Regions from separate parts of the Homo sapiens genome. Here region 1 is linked to region 2. The links are contacts of gene promoters, found by promoter capture Hi-C in human tissues and cell types (Jung and others, 2019). All regions are on one chromosome and are shown on one strand. Each heading gives the region's core, a stretch centred on a gene start or on the middle of the fragment in contact. The rest is flanking DNA. Distances are from core to core; before and after follow the strand shown.

Region 1 (3,112 bases), core at 214-2,713, 200 kb after region 2:
TAAACCTGGTGTACGTTAGATTGAGAGCTGAGGAATCGCTTTTCTCAGATATCTTATTTTTCAAGTCTGAGTAAGAAATTGAAGAAATGGGAATAAACGTTTTGTGTATTTGTTTGTGACATTCTTGAGGCCTGGGTTGAAATTCCAAGGGACAGTTTTTAATGTATTCCTTATAGAAAACCTTTTTTTTCTTTTCTTTTCTTGATTCTTGGAGGTAGGGGGAAAGTTGTTTGAGCAGGAAAGAAGAAAATGGGGTGATGACATTGGTAGTTAAAGCTTACCAACTTTAATAATGAAAACAGAGCCAGTTGGGGTGGTGCACGCCTGTAGTCCCAGCCACTCAAAAAGCTGAGGCAGGAAGATCTCTTGAGCCCAGCGTGGGCAACACAGTGAAACCCCATTAAAAAAATAGAAAAAAAATAATGAAAGCATATTGTGAGGCAGAGTTGTCTGTGACTATTGGGACTTTTTCATCACCAGCAGCCTGCAGCATTTCTCTGGGGAAGATGTGAAGATATAGCCACTCTGTCCTCCTTTGGAGGCACTGGGTACCATATGTGTATATATCCCTGGCTTTGGAAGCAATCTGGGTTTGAATCCTAGCTTTACAACTTGCAGACTGTATGACTTGTCTTGACTCTTTCTATTTCCCTATCTGTAAAATTAGGTAAACAATAGTGTTCATCTTTGAGACGATCCTGTAGGGCACTTAGCATAATACTAAGCAACATGGAGAGGGCTCAGTCAAAGTTAGCTCTCCTGACTGCCTGGGGCATGGAGAGGAGAGTTCTGCCTAGCATTTCTGAGATATGCATACAAATCGATGGAGATAATGTACATTGACAATTTTAATGAGCAAAGAAATAAAAGGTACATGTTAAGGGAAAAGTAAAAAAGGATTTCAAGTCTATTTGCACATCTTCAATTTTCCAGTGACCAGGGAGGGCAAGAAGGCCAAGCCCCTTTGCTTGTACTTCACTCCCCATGACACGGGACAGGTGGCAGCTCTGCAGTGGAAGTGGCAGACCAGACCAAAAAATTCATGTCAAAACCAGGATTTCTGTAGATCAGGGATTTCCGGTTTTTCTGCCTGAACTTACCAAATAGTAAACGTTTATCTCCTTTTCTTTCTTTCTCCCTTCCCTCCCTCCCCCCCTCCTTTCTTTTCTCTTCTCTTCTCTTCTCTTCTCTTTTCTTTCTTTTCTCTGAGACGGACTGTCTCTCTGTTGCCCAGGCTGGAGTGCTGTGGCACAATCTGGTCTCACTGCAAGCTCCACTTCCTATGTTCACGCCATTCTCCTGCCTCAGCCTCCCGAGTAGCTGGGACTACAGGCGCCCGCCACCACGCCTGGCTAATTTTTTGTATTTTTAGTAGAGATGGGGTTTCACCATGTTAGCCAGGATGGTCTCGATCTCCTGCCCTTGTGATCTGCCCACATTGGCCTCCCAAAGTGCTGGGATTACAGGTGTGAGCCATCATGCCCTTCCTTTCCTTTCCTTTTTCCTTTTTCCTTTCCTTTCCTTTTTCCTTTTTCCTTTCCTTTCCTTTCCTTTCCTTTCCTTTCCTTTCCTTTCCTTTCCTTTCCTTTCCTTTCCTTTCCTTCTCTCTCTCTCTCTCTTTCTTTCTCTTTCTTTTCTTTTCTTTTTTTCTTGATCTAGACTTTGCTGGAATATTCTTTTTTGTTTCATTTTGTTTTTTCTTTTTTTGAGACAGAGTTTCACTCTTATTGCCCGGGCTGGAGTGCAATAGTACGATCTCGGCTCACTGCAACCTCTGCCTCCCAGGTTCAAGTGATTCTCCTGCCTCAGCCTCCCGAGTCGCTGGGATTCCAGGTGCATGTCACCACATGTGGCTAATTTTTGTATTTTTAGTAGAGACGGGGTTTTGCCATGTTGGCCAGGCTGGTCTCGAACTCCTCACCTCAGGTGATCTGCCTGCCTTGGCCTCCCAAAGTACTGGGATTACAGGTATGAGCCACCATATCTGGCCTTTGCTGGAATATTCTAAACACACATTAAAAACAGTTTTAATGTGAGATTTTTGGAGAAGAGACAGGAGAGTGTGGTGGCTAAGTAAGTTTGGATCAGACAACATGGCTTTGAATAACAATTAACCTAAAAAAAAAAGGCTCTGGGACCCTGTTTTGCTTGTCTATAAATTGGAGATGACAAAAGTATCTTCCTGATGGGATCAGAAATACATGGGAAAATTACGTAAGGCCTATAGTACAATGGCTCACACAGAGTAAAGACTCAGTAAGTTCTGGTGGTTATTATGAATGGCTTATGGACAAGTGGGTTTTTTTTTTTTTTTTTTTTTTTTTTTTTTTGAGATGAAGTCTTGCTCTGTCACCCAGGCTAGAGAGCGGTGGTGCGATCTTGGCTGACTACAACCTCTGCCTCCTGGGTTCAAATGATTCTCCTGCCTCAGCCTCCCAAGTAGCTAGAATTACAGGCACTTGCCACCATGCCCAGCTAATTTTTGTATTTTTAGTAGAGACAGGGTTTCACCAGGTTGGCCAGGCTGGTCTCGAACTCCTGACCTCATGATCCGCTCGCCTCGGCCTCCCAAAGTGCTGGGATTACAGGCATGAGCCACTGTGCCTGGCCTGAATTTTTTATTGATATGTAATAGTTGTACATATTTTATGTAGGGAAATTATTAATGTTCATTATGTCAATAGGATATAAATGTTGGGTTTATAGAAAAAAACTTTCTTTCATCTTGCCTAAAATGTCCTGAGACTCTTTAGGACATATACTGAATTGCTGATGGTTATTAATAATTTTTAGAGTTTTTATTTTAAGAAAAAAATGAGAACAAGGAACTATTATAGGCTAATTGTATCTACTTTTTTTGTTTTGTTTTTTGGAGACAGGATCTCACTCTGTTGCCCAGGCTGGAGTGCAGTGGCACAGTCATGGCTCACTGCAACCTCTGCTTCCTGCGCTCAAGTGATCCTCCTACCTCAGCCTTCCAAGTGGCTGGGACCACAGCTGCCTGTCACTGCACCTGGCTAATTTTTGTATTTTTTGTAGAGACAAGGTTTTACCATGTTGCCCAGGCTGGTCTCAAACTCCTGGGCTCAAGAGATACTCCCACCTTGGCCTC
Region 2 (2,884 bases), core at 251-2,750:
GCGTCCGGCCCACAAGCTAAATTTTGAAGTATTAGATCCTTTCTTAAACTTTTGCTCTTCGGATTGTCAATGTCAAAGATAGTTTCCAGGGGGACCAAATTGGCCCCAAACTGTTATTAAATAAGCCTTAACTTTTATTGCTGCGCATTTCTTCTGAAATCAATTCTGACTGCTTACGTGGTTAGAAAAATAGTTTCTGCTATTGAATATAAAACTCAAATTATCCATGGCTATGCAATAAACTTCAGAAATAAATGGACAGCAGTGCATTTATGACCCAGGTATAATCTCACATTTTTATGCAAAAATACAGATTAAATAAGGAGAGTGTAATTTTCAGGAAAATGATTATTTATGTGGATACTCACCAGATATGCAGAAATCTTACCAGTTCTGATTTTGACCTGCCATGGAATCTGAAGTCATTCGCCTTTTTTTCCCCCCAGAGGTAAAAAAGTTATCTCTACTTCAAACCATTTCCTTCTTCCTAAATAACTAGTAATTGCTTTTTCATTTACTATGATAACTCAAAAACGTTGTTCAAAAATATCCTGCAAAATTTGCATTATAGAGAAACGACTCTGCAGGCGTCTGTGTCGATAATGAGGCTACACTTAGGAGGCGTGAGGGTACTGACTATGCAAATGAGCGATTTCTCCATTAGGAATTCCCATCCCCAAATCTGGGCCGAAGGAGAGACACCGAGCGCGGCCAGGGACTCACATGGTGCACTGGAGCCAAGGGGTTTCGGGAAGGGCCAGCGCGCGGGTCTCTCTAGAGCCCTCTACTCATGCGTGGGAATTCCAGATTCCTTCCCTGGGAAGGAATCTTCACGTATCTCCCGGCACTGTCCTCAGTGACCTTCAGCCACTCGGCATCACTTTCCCTGTCTTTGAAAACTCCGAGAGAAGCAGCCGCCACCTGCCTCAGGCCAAGGCAATAAACCCACATCACACCGCCAGTCTGAGCCCTGCAGGAAGGGGTGCACAGCGGCCTCCAGAGCGCTTTCTCCCCAGCTCTGTTTCTGCAGGCTCGGCCGCGCGAACGCTGAGGAGGGGATCGGAGGCCCGCAAGGCTCAGACCCCGCGCCCCGCGGGGGTCGCACAGGGGTCGGGCGGGGGAGGGGAGCGGTGGCTGCAGGGCCTCGGCCCTCCCCGGGGGAGGGGCCTGAGCACCGCACCGCCCCCCTCCTCCCTGCGTCTTCTCCCTCCCACCCCCCGCCCTTTTCCACCCGCCCCCGCAGGAGGAAAGGGAGAGGGAGGGGGAAAAGAAAGTGCTGTTTTGTGGAAAGGGGCGGAAGGCGGGGGAGAAAAAGGGAACAGAAACATGGCGGTCAGGTCTTGGGACGGCTGCGCCGCGGGCAGCTCCTAGGCGACGCGCCGCCCGCACTGTCCGACGGCTCACAGCGCGGAGGCACCCGCGCGGGCCAGCGCTCCGGCCATCGCCCCTGGCTGTAGGCGGCGCCCCTCGGAGACCCTGCCCGCGAGGCGGCGCAGGCGCAGACCGGACTGAGGCGGCGGCGGCCGCTGGAGCTAGTCCCCCGCCCTGCCCTGCCGAGCGCGCCCAGTCCGCGAATCCGGTGCTTTCTTGCCCCAGGAAGAAGCCGTGTCGGGGCTGCGCTGACAGAGGAGCAGGCAGCAGGTGAGGCTGCGGCGCGGGGCCTTTGGCGGAGGAAGCCTGCGCCGTGCCCTCGCGGGGCCTGCGCTGCAAGGCTGGGAGGGCGCGGGACAGGTAGAGCCCGGAGGGCTGAGTTCCGAGTGGCTGGCCCGCGGGGGGTCGCCGAGGAGGCGGAGAGTGGCCGCGGCTGGCGTTCGTGGCCTAGTTTCTCCGCGGTTTCCGGGGGCGGGGAGTCCCCGGATCCTGCGGGATGCAGTCGGGGAAAGGCTGCCCCTGAAGAGCCTCCCCGCGTCGCCCGCCGGGCCCATGAGAATCGTTTGCGTACAAGCGCGAGGGGTCTGGGCCCGGGGGACCGCCGGGGCGACGGCCGCTTTGGTGGGGGCCGGGGTGCGGAGGGAGCAGGATCGGGGCTTCCCAGAGGGGGTCGAGGCTGAGAGAGCGGAGAGCTAGAGCCAGGGGTGGCGGGCAGTCTCGAGAGGAGTCGGGGGACTGAGAAGTGTCGGGGACAACGGGGAGGAGGGGGACCTGGGCAGGTGTCTCTGGTGAATTGAAGACATTTCCTTCTCTGTCTTACGGTGGCCGATCCTCAGGGCTTCTTTGTCGGGGATGACTTTCTAGGAGGGCAGTATCCTTTTAACTCTGGAGTGACTAAACACAAAACCAAGGAATGAAGTCCTAAGGCTGACTCCTGTAAAGAGCTGTAACTTTTTCTGTTTTAAGAATGCTGTCACGTCTTTTTTTTTTTCCTCCCCTTTTCTGCTTGATAGACCTTTTCCCTCTCGAAGACCGTCTTTTATCTGCACTAATAAGGAATTACCCAGTTTTTAAATAGTACCGCCTCCTTCTCCCCTTATGTATGTTTGTCACACGGGAAAATTTAGGGTAGTTACCGCGGGTACTTGTGCAAATTTGAGGGAAAGTGTCATTTCCAGTAGTGAACCCTCAGCTGTCTCTTTGTGCCTCCGAGATACTGTCAAGCGTTGTAGCCTGAGAAATTGACCCACTGAGCCTGCTTAATTGTGTGCAAACCCGTGTTGAGGCGTTCTTCCTAGGCCCTAATTTACGTAGGAATAGGTTTTCCCTTCCGGTCTGTGTATAATGAGAGGGGAGAACGTTAGTGCTAAGGCGCTAAGTTCTGGATAAATACTTGATTTGATGTGATAGTGTGTATTACTCTATCAGAAATGCAGAGCGTTGTATGATTTTTCTGTGTACACGCGATAAGAGCAATATTAGTTGCAAAAGGAAGTTTTCATCTTTGAACATT

What was found. The method cuts DNA at HindIII sites, captures the fragments that hold promoters and counts their contacts. A contact is called where the count stands out against the background at its distance.
Region 1: a contact is called between a fragment that was not itself captured here and the fragment with the promoter of DENND4C in region 2, in 1 of the 25 tissues and cell types used here (H1 embryonic stem cells).

What each region holds. Positions count from the first base shown.
Region 1 is chr9:19,426,478-19,429,589 of GRCh38, forward strand. The region is part of intron 3 of ACER2 (alkaline ceramidase 2); the gene reads left to right. Among named protein-coding and RNA genes, the nearest start is that of ACER2, 19 kb to the left of the region's middle. The HindIII fragment of the contact is 4,283 bases long and covers 1-3,112 here.
Region 2 is chr9:19,229,193-19,232,076 of GRCh38, forward strand. It overlaps DENND4C (DENN domain containing 4C), which reads left to right and starts at 1,501. Exons shown (of 33, transcript NM_001330640.2): 1 at 1,501-1,641. RefSeq lists enhancers at 659-908, 1,293-1,799, 1,800-2,305 and silencers at 939-1,238, 1,319-1,688, 1,909-2,048. The HindIII fragment of the contact is 7,148 bases long and covers 1-2,884 here.